Linked DNA regions of Homo sapiens: all the other regions are linked to region 2. The links are contacts of gene promoters, found by promoter capture Hi-C in blood cells and fetal thymus (Javierre and others, 2016). All regions are on one chromosome and are shown on one strand. The core of a region is centred on a gene start or on the middle of the fragment in contact, and the rest is flanking DNA. Distances in the headings are between cores, read along the strand shown. Region 1 has its middle 49 kb from the start of LACTBL1. Region 2 holds the start of EPHB2 (EPH receptor B2). Region 3 overlaps EPHB2 (EPH receptor B2).

Region 1 (2,700 bases), core at 100-2,599, 210 kb before region 2:
GTGGGTGTTTATGGATGTGTGTGAGTGTGTAGGGCTGGGGGGCTGAGGGAAGGAGATGGGGTCAACTCCAGCACGGTTTCTGCTGCCTGGGGACTCACCATCACCAGGGACAGTGCTGTAGCAATAGAGTCTTTTTTTTTTTTTTTTTTTTTTTTTTTTTTTTTTGAGATGGAGTGTCTCTCTGTTGCCCAGGCTGGAGTGCAGTGGTGTGATCTCGGCTCACTGCAACCTCTGCCTCCCGGGTTCAAGCGATTCTCCTGCCTCAGCCTCTCAAGTAGCTGGGATTACAGGCGCCCACCACCACACCTGGCTAATTTTTGTATTTTTAGTAGAGACAGCGTTTTACCATGTTGGCCACGCAGGTCTCAAACTCCTGACCTCAAGATATCCACCCGCCTCAACCTCCCAAAGCGCTGGGATTACAGGCGTGAGCCACCGTGCCTGGCTTGTAGCAATAGAGTCTTGGTTTTACCTTTGTGCCATCCACAGGGGCAGCAAGGAAGGAGGTGCTCGCAGCAAGTGTGATTGGTAGAGGGTAGGGGGTGCTGGTGGCTCCAGGGTCCCCTGCACTGTGTCATCAGGGTTTCTGGGGCAGGGCTGATCCAGGCAGACACTTTGATCTGATGGGTTTGGTGGAGGAGTGGAGGGGGGCGGGGCGGTGGGGAGGGGCAGAGCATTTCTATAGTCCCATGGGGGTGGGGGTGGGGTCTCCATAGCCATGACTCCAAACCCAGTGAGACACTATGGGAAACAGCCCCTCCCTTGTTTCTCTTTTTCTCCTTGATGACATTTTGTTGTGGCAGCCATGATGCCCCTGTGTCTGAGAAATGACTGAACTTGTGGATGCCCATTTGGAGCCTGGAGGGGCAAAGATTGGTCTCAGCTGTCCCAGGGGTGAGAGAGAAGGGTGAGAAGAAGGTTGAGAGGAGCCAATAAGGGTTAGATGAGAGAGCTGGGAGTTGGGGACCTGGGTCAGGGTCCCTGAGCAGGGAGTAGACCCCTGTGAGATTGTACTGGATCTCAGAATGGGAAGGAGAGTCTAAGGAAAGCCCAGTTTGGTCCAGGAACTGGGGCAGGTGGAAATAGAAAGGGGATCCAGGCTTCTCAGAGGAACCAGGCTGGGAGACAGAAGTCATCTTGGGTGATGGGTCAGAGGCCCCAGGACACCTAAGGAAGGCCTGGAATTTGCAAGCTGAGCCACCCGTGCTGTGTGCCTGTGTGTGGTGCCTGAACCAGCTGACCTCACCATGAGCTGTCACAGACTGTCCTCCTTAAGGGATCTGGTGGCATTGCCAGCCTGCTTTATGAACAGCCATAAGGGGTCATATATTACGTTTGATCTAGCAATCACTTCTGTGCCAGTGTTACTTACATAGTGTCTTAGTCTGTTTCTGCTGCTATGACAAAATACCCAAGACCGGGTAACTTGTAAACAGCAGAAATTGATTTCTCACAGTTCTGGAGGCTGGGAAGTCCAAGATCAAGGCACCAACAGGCTCAGTGTCTGATGAGGGCCTGCTCCTTATAGACGGTGCCTTCTCTGTGTCTTCACTTGGTGGAAGGGATGGAAGGGCCAAAGGGGACAAACTCTGTGTCCTCATGTGGCAGAAGAGCAGAACAAGCAAGCTGACCAAGATGTGAAGCCTCTTTTCAGAGGGCCTCAATCCCCTTCACCAGGGCTCTGCCCTCATGGTTCAATCACCTCCTAAAGGTCCCCACTAAATACTATTGCATTTGTGATTATGTCTCAACACAGGAATTTTTGCGGACATTCAGACCATAGCACGTAGAAATTCACAAAAGATATTACGTCAGTGTTTGACTTCATACCTTTGCATCTGCCATTCCCTCGACCTGGAATACTCATCTCCATCCTCTCTCAGCTTCCTGGAGAGCTCCCAGTCATGCTCTGGAACCCTGCTCAGCTCCTCAAAGGGGTGTCCTTCAGGGTTAGTTGCTCCCTTCCCGGAAGCTGTCGACACCTTGAATGCCATGCACATCACCTGCGTTGTAGTGACCCATGTACCTGCTGGTCTCTTCCACTGACTGAGCACTTCCACGAGGGCAGGCATGGGTCTCATTCACTGCAGCGCTCCCAGCACCAGCCTAGTGCTTGGCTTTCCATGGGTGCCTGATTCATGGGCAGTGAAGTGGCCCAAATGCCCTGATAAGCTCTTGGGGGCAGGAGTCATTTGTTTCCCCCACGGCATCTAATGCAGTACTTTTGTGCAGTAGGAATTCAGTAAGTACTTCTTGAATGAATGAATGAATGAATGAGTGAGTTATGATTCACTCATAGCTCACAATTCTGCAAGGCTGTACAGGAAGCATGGTTCTGGCATCTGCTTGGCCCCTGGGAAGGCCTCAGGAAACTTACAATTATGGTGAATCAGAGGACAGCCTCCTGGTTCCCATCCCTTTCTGGGCTCTATGCCATGGTGTTTTCCAGGCCTAACTTTAACCCCTAGCTCCAGATCAACCTGCAACTCCCAGAGCATTACCCAAGTGTGTTCCCAGGGACACTGGTCCCATGAGATGCTCTCCCAGAGGGAAAGCCTGCAAATGGTAACACCTTCTTAGAGATTCACATTGCACTTTTACCATATTTAAGACTCTGCAATATCCTGGGACAAAGAAATCTGATTAACTTGCCTTACCCCAGAATTTGCCAAATGTATTTGACCATGGAACCCTCACTGA
Region 2 (2,700 bases), core at 126-2,625:
TCAAGAGAAGTAGGAATCATACCTACCTGTCTTCCCCGGAAGGTGTATTTTGAGGGATCCAACACGCTGGTGGGCGGGAAAGCACTTTGTAAAGCTTAAAGTACCTTGTCAACTGTGCAGCACGTTGTAAACCACAGAGAGCTGCGTATAGTGCGAAGTACTTCATAAACTGTAAAGTGGTTTGAAAACTGTAAAGTGCAGTACACGTGAGAACCATTATTCACGTTCGCTTCTTGCCCTGCAAGCTCGGCCATTCCTGGTGGACACACCCAGACCGCACTAACTTTCCCTCCAGAGCAAGCTGGCTCGGGAGACCTAGCAACTACCCTTGCCCCCCTGGGGGTCGAGTGGTACCAATACACGAGGCCACGGGGAGAGGGCCCGCGACCCTGGCCAAGGCCAACACATGGCAAGAGCATCTGGTCCGGCCCCGGCGGCAGCTGGAGAGTTCCCGGGGCTCCAGCCGCCACGCTGAGCGCCGCGGCCGCGGGGCGGTGGCCGGCGGGGGTGCCCGGAGACCTTGCGCGGCGGAGAGATGCCCACAGACCCATCCCCCGCGCAGTCCTCTCGGGGAGGGGACCCCATTGTACGCCGCGGGCGATGGGCAGGCACCGACGCGGGGGCTGGCGCGCTCCCTTCCACTCTGCCAGTCCCTGCTCTCCGGGGCGCCGGGCCCCATCTCGGGGGCGCGGGCCGGGAGCCCCCACCCCGGCCGGCCGCGGTGCCTCCCTCCCTCTGCTCCCTGCCAAACTTTCCAGCCCCGACCGAGCGCCGGCGCCCCCCCCGCCCCCCGCCACGGCCGGGCCCGCGCCCCTCCACCCTGTGCGGAGCAAGACCAGGCCGGCGCGAGGCGGCTGCCCGAGCCGGGGGCGGCGAGCGCGCGTGGGCAGCCCCCAGCCCTGGGCGGCGCTCGCCGGGCTGGCTACAAAGCCTCGGCAAGATGGTCCCTTCGCCTCCTCCTGGCACAGTCAATCAGCGCCCGCCGCTCCCCGGGCGCCCGCGGGGCCCGCTCCTCCCGGCGCGGCCGGACACACCTCCCCGCGGCCACCTGCGCCCGGCGCCGGCCCCCGGGCAAACTTTGCGGGCCGCGGAGCGGAGGTGGGCGCCGGCGGCCGCCCGTGCCCGGCCGCTCCCCGCCCCCATCGCCCGCCCGCCCGCCCGCTCGCTCACCTTCCACGGCGGCGAGCAGCGGCAGCAGCAGCAGCGCGGCCCCCAGCCTCCGCAGAGCCATGGCTGCGCTTCCCGGGGCCTCGGGCCGCGGCGCCGCGGGGCCCGGACGGCCCGGGCGGGAGCGCGCGCCCCGGGCTCGGGGGGCCAGGGGGGGCGGCAAGGCGCGGCGCACACACAGCCGCCGCCACCGCGCAGCCAGCAGAATGAGCCATCCAGCCCGGGCAGAACGGGGACCCGGGCTCCGCCAGCGCTGGGCACGGCCCACCTGAGCCGCGGGCGCGGGGGGAGCCTCGCCAGGCCACCGCCCCCCGCGCGCGTCCCGGCCCCCGGCGGCCGCGCGCCGCCGCGAGCCCGGGTCCCCACACCGCGCCCGTAGGGTCACCCGGGGGCAGCGCGGGCGCTGGAGCGCGGCGACCCCGCGTGCCCGGGCCACTGAGACCCCGGGCTCCCCCCGCGCAGCAGTGGTCTCTCCCGGCGCTGTGGCTCCTCCAGATAAAGCAGCGATTTCAGCCCAAATGTTTCTCAATTTTTATTGAATGCTGCAAAGCCGGAGAGCGTCTGGCGCGGCTGACAGGGGCAGGGAGAGCGGACGGAGGGGAGGGCGGGGGAAGGGGCTTCCCAAAGCGGGGGCCGGCACTACCTGTCAGGGCAGGGAGTCCCACCCCCTCGCCTCAGCCCTGCCACCCGGGTCCCTGCGGCTTCGAAAGGGACCGAACTGCAATGAATGGAAAAAAAAAAAAAAGGGTGTGTGTGGGGGGGTGGCATCTGGGAACAAAACAGGCGGCTTTCCCAGGCACCGGGGCTGGGCCGGGGCCTCCGAGTGGGAGACTGGGCCTTGGCGCTACCCGAGGGCCTGGGGTGGGGCTGGGGGGAGGGTGGTCACTCGGCACTGGTGGGCTGGGCCCTTGCAGGCAGACCCCAGGCCTCCCCTCCCTGCCCCGTTGTTCTGAGCTGGCCCGCGAGCCCCTCACTGCAGACTCGTCTATGTCTGTATTAGATTTCTCCTTCTCTGTTGATCTTGCTCCCAGTGCAGTTTGGGGATGGGGTGAAGGAAGTCCATGGGTGAATCTGGGGAAAGCCCCAGCCACCCCCACGCTGTGGAATGGACCTGTCTGTGCAGCCGTGGTTTTGTGCATGGCCGTCCCTTCAGGGAGAACACAACCCTAGCCCCAACCCTGTGGGCCCTGCCCTGCTCTGACAGCCTTCATCACCATCATCATTAACAGACTTTACTGAAGTCTGGATGGTGGGCGGCTGCAGGGGGCCTGCGGCAATCACCCAGGCTGAACCCCTGGCAGTTGGGAGCCCACTCCTGACTGAGGAGACTTCATCAGGAGCTCGGAACTCTGTGGAGTGAGTGGAGGAGCCCAGTGCAGGAGCAGGTGGTTTAAGTCGAAGGCAGTTTAAGTCTATGCTACCCACATCTCCTGTGTCCCTTTGTCCCACATACTATCAAAATGTCCCAGCAATCCCTCCCCTTCAGTCCATACCAAGAAAATGGGGTACCACAGGCTTTGGGAATCCATCTAA
Region 3 (2,700 bases), core at 55-2,554, 130 kb before region 2:
GAGAGAGAGAGAATCAAAGCAGAGGAAAATGACAAACCTCTAATCTTACAGACCATTCTTATCTCAGCCCTTATAAAAATGAGGAGTCCTGGTTGTTTCTAAAAATGGCTCTGAAAGTTCATAAACTTGACAAGCACTTAGCTCTAGCACCCACAGACAAGGACTAATCCTCGAGAAAACTGGAGATGAGGAGTCGGGAGGCAACTTGTGGTGAAGGGCAGCCTGCAAAGATAGCCCACACTGTCACCAAGTGAGGGCTTGAGACCACAACTTCCTAGCTTATTTTCTCTGACCTCATGGGAACTCTGCTTAGAAGGGTCTCTTTAGTTCCAAAAGCGGCCAGAACTAATGTTTTAACATTTATCTTCTATTAAATGACGGTTCACACTTAGTGCTTACCGTGGGGCAGATGCTGTTTTAAGTGCGTTATATGGATTAATCATGTAATCTCAAATTATACTATAATTATCCCCACTTACAAGGGATACAGGCACAGAGAGGTAAGTCGCTTGTCCAATGTCACTGATGCAGTGAGTGGTAGAGGAGGGATCTAAATTGAGCTGGACACCATGTGCTTTCAGCCACTGCTCGCTCACCACTCAGGAGGTGGGACTCCACGCTGGATGGAGCCTAACTCATCATCGTCACCTCCTCTGCTCTCATCGCAACATCCTGATGAACTCCTGGCCCTGTTTTATAGCTGAGGAAACTGAGGCTCTGAGCATTCAAGTGGCCTGGCCAGGAGCACACAAATCCGGGTGTGGGCAGAGCCAGGGTCTACTCCTGCTGCCTGGTTCCAGGGCCCGAGTACCTTGCAGGGTATGGAGCTGCCAAAGGCCTTCAGCTGCAGGCAGGACCTAATGCCCTCTTGATCTGACCAAGGACCCCAAAGGACTGGGATCAGTCAAGGTCCCAAGGATGCTGGCCCCAGGCTATAGGCTTCCTTCTTGGGGGCTTCCTGGGGGATCCGGTGCCTGGCCCAGCTTCGTCTCCTCAGAGAAACAGTGCTGTGCTGTGGTTAGCAGTGTGTGCTCTGGAGCCGGCATCACCACTTCCTAGCTGAGTGACCTTGGGTAAATAATATAACTTTTCTGTGCCTCAGTTTTTCCACCTGCAAAATGGGGATAATAACACTCTCCCTCCTAAGGTTGTTGAGAAGACAGCTAATACTCATGAAGCACTTAGACCCTGCTGTCAAACTGGACAGGCTCCTGCCTACCCCTAAGACCCCTCTCACTATAGACAGCTGCCTGGCTGGGCCAGCCTCTCAGCTGCCTGGGTCTCCTGCCAGCCCCTGCCCCTGCAGAGACAGCAGCAGCACTCTGGGTTCCAATCCCAGCCCTGCTCTTCCTGGCTGAGGCTTTTGGGCACATGAGCATATACCTCTCTGAGTCTCTGTCTTCTTATGTGTTAAACAAGGGCAATAAGCCTGTTTTAATAACAGTGTGGCAATGTACGTTAGCTCAGCCATTGTGGAAAGCAGTGTGGAAATTTCTCAAAGAGCTTAAAACAGATGTACCATTTGACCCAACAATCCGAATATTAGGTAGATGCTCAAAGGAATATAAATTGTTCTACCACAGAGACACATGCACATGTATGTTCACTGCAGCATTATTCACAACAGCAAAGCCATGGGATCAACCTAAATGTCCATGAACAGTAGAATGAATAAAGAAAAGGTGGTACATATACACCATGGAATACTACACAGCCATAAAAAAGCCTTTGCAACAGCGTGGATGGAGCTGGAGGCCATTATCCTAAGTGAACTAACATAGGAACACAAAACCAAATACCACATGTTCTCACTTATAAGCGGAAGCTAAACATTGAATACACATGGACACAAAGAAGGGAACAAGAGGCTGGGTACGGTGGCCCACGCCTGTAATCCCAGCACTTTGGGAAACTGAGGTGGGCAGATCACTTGAGGTCAGGAGTTCGAGAGCAGCCTGGCCAACATGGTAAAACCCTGTCTCTATTAAAAATACAAAAATTAGCCAGGCATAGCGGCAGGTGGCTGTAATCCCAGCTACTCGGGAGGCTGAGACAGAAGAATCACTTGAATCTGCGAGGTACAGGTTGCAGTGAGCTGAGATTGCACCACTGCACTCCAGCTTGGGCAACAGAGTGAGACTAAGTCTCCAGAAAAAAAGAAAAAGAAGAAGGGAACAAAAGACACTGGGGCCTACTTGAGGGTGGAGGGTGGGAGGAGAGAGAGGATCGAAAAACTACCTATTGGGTACTATGCTTATCACCGGGGTGATGAAATAATCTGTACACCAAATCCCCATGACATGCAATTTATCTATATGACAAATCTTCACATGTACTCCTAAAATAAAAGTTAGGAGAAAAAAAACACAGTGGCAAGAGCAAGGACTTAGAATTAGACAGACCTGGGTCTCTGCTTCTTGCTTTCTGCATGGTCTTGGGAAAGTTGCTTGAACCCCCAGAGCCTCAGTTTCCTCAGGTGTAAAATGGGGACACTCCCTTGCAAGGTTTTATACTGTGAGGACAAAATGAGGTTACAGTTGGATGGTGCCATGTACTTGCAGGGGCTCAGTAAGTGGCCATTAGTATTACCTATTTCTCCTTGCAGGGATCCTTCACTCAACAGATACGATACCCTACCATGTGTTCTAATTGCTCAGATTCAGCCACAAGCAAAACAGCTAGGTTCCTACTTGAGAATTT

The links. Contacts are between HindIII fragments. The CHiCAGO score rates a contact against its expected background, and 5 or more counts as called.
Region 1: a fragment that was not itself captured here is called in contact with the fragment with the promoter of EPHB2 in region 2 in 1 of 17 cell types (endothelial precursors); the score reaches 6.0 in endothelial precursors.
Region 3: a contact is called between a fragment that was not itself captured here and the fragment with the promoter of EPHB2 in region 2, in 4 of 17 cell types (M1 macrophages, M0 macrophages, endothelial precursors and 1 more). The highest score is 7.2, in M1 macrophages.

The regions. Positions count from the first base shown.
Region 1 is chr1:22,922,511-22,925,210 of GRCh38, reverse strand. No RefSeq gene overlaps it. Among named protein-coding and RNA genes, the nearest start is that of LACTBL1, 49 kb to the left of the region's middle. RefSeq lists an enhancer at 1-471. The HindIII fragment of the contact is 9,052 bases long and covers 1-2,700 here.
Region 2 is chr1:22,709,514-22,712,213 of GRCh38, reverse strand. It overlaps EPHB2 (EPH receptor B2), which reads right to left and starts at 1,375. Exons shown (of 16, transcript NM_017449.5): 1 at 1,171-1,375. The coding sequence starts at 1,231. RefSeq lists an enhancer at 82-181 and a silencer at 2,403-2,688. The HindIII fragment of the contact is 2,980 bases long and covers 97-2,700 here.
Region 3 is chr1:22,843,007-22,845,706 of GRCh38, reverse strand. All of the region lies in intron 3 of EPHB2 (EPH receptor B2), which reads right to left. Among named protein-coding and RNA genes, the nearest start is that of MIR4253, 19 kb to the left of the region's middle. The HindIII fragment of the contact is 6,267 bases long and covers 1-2,700 here.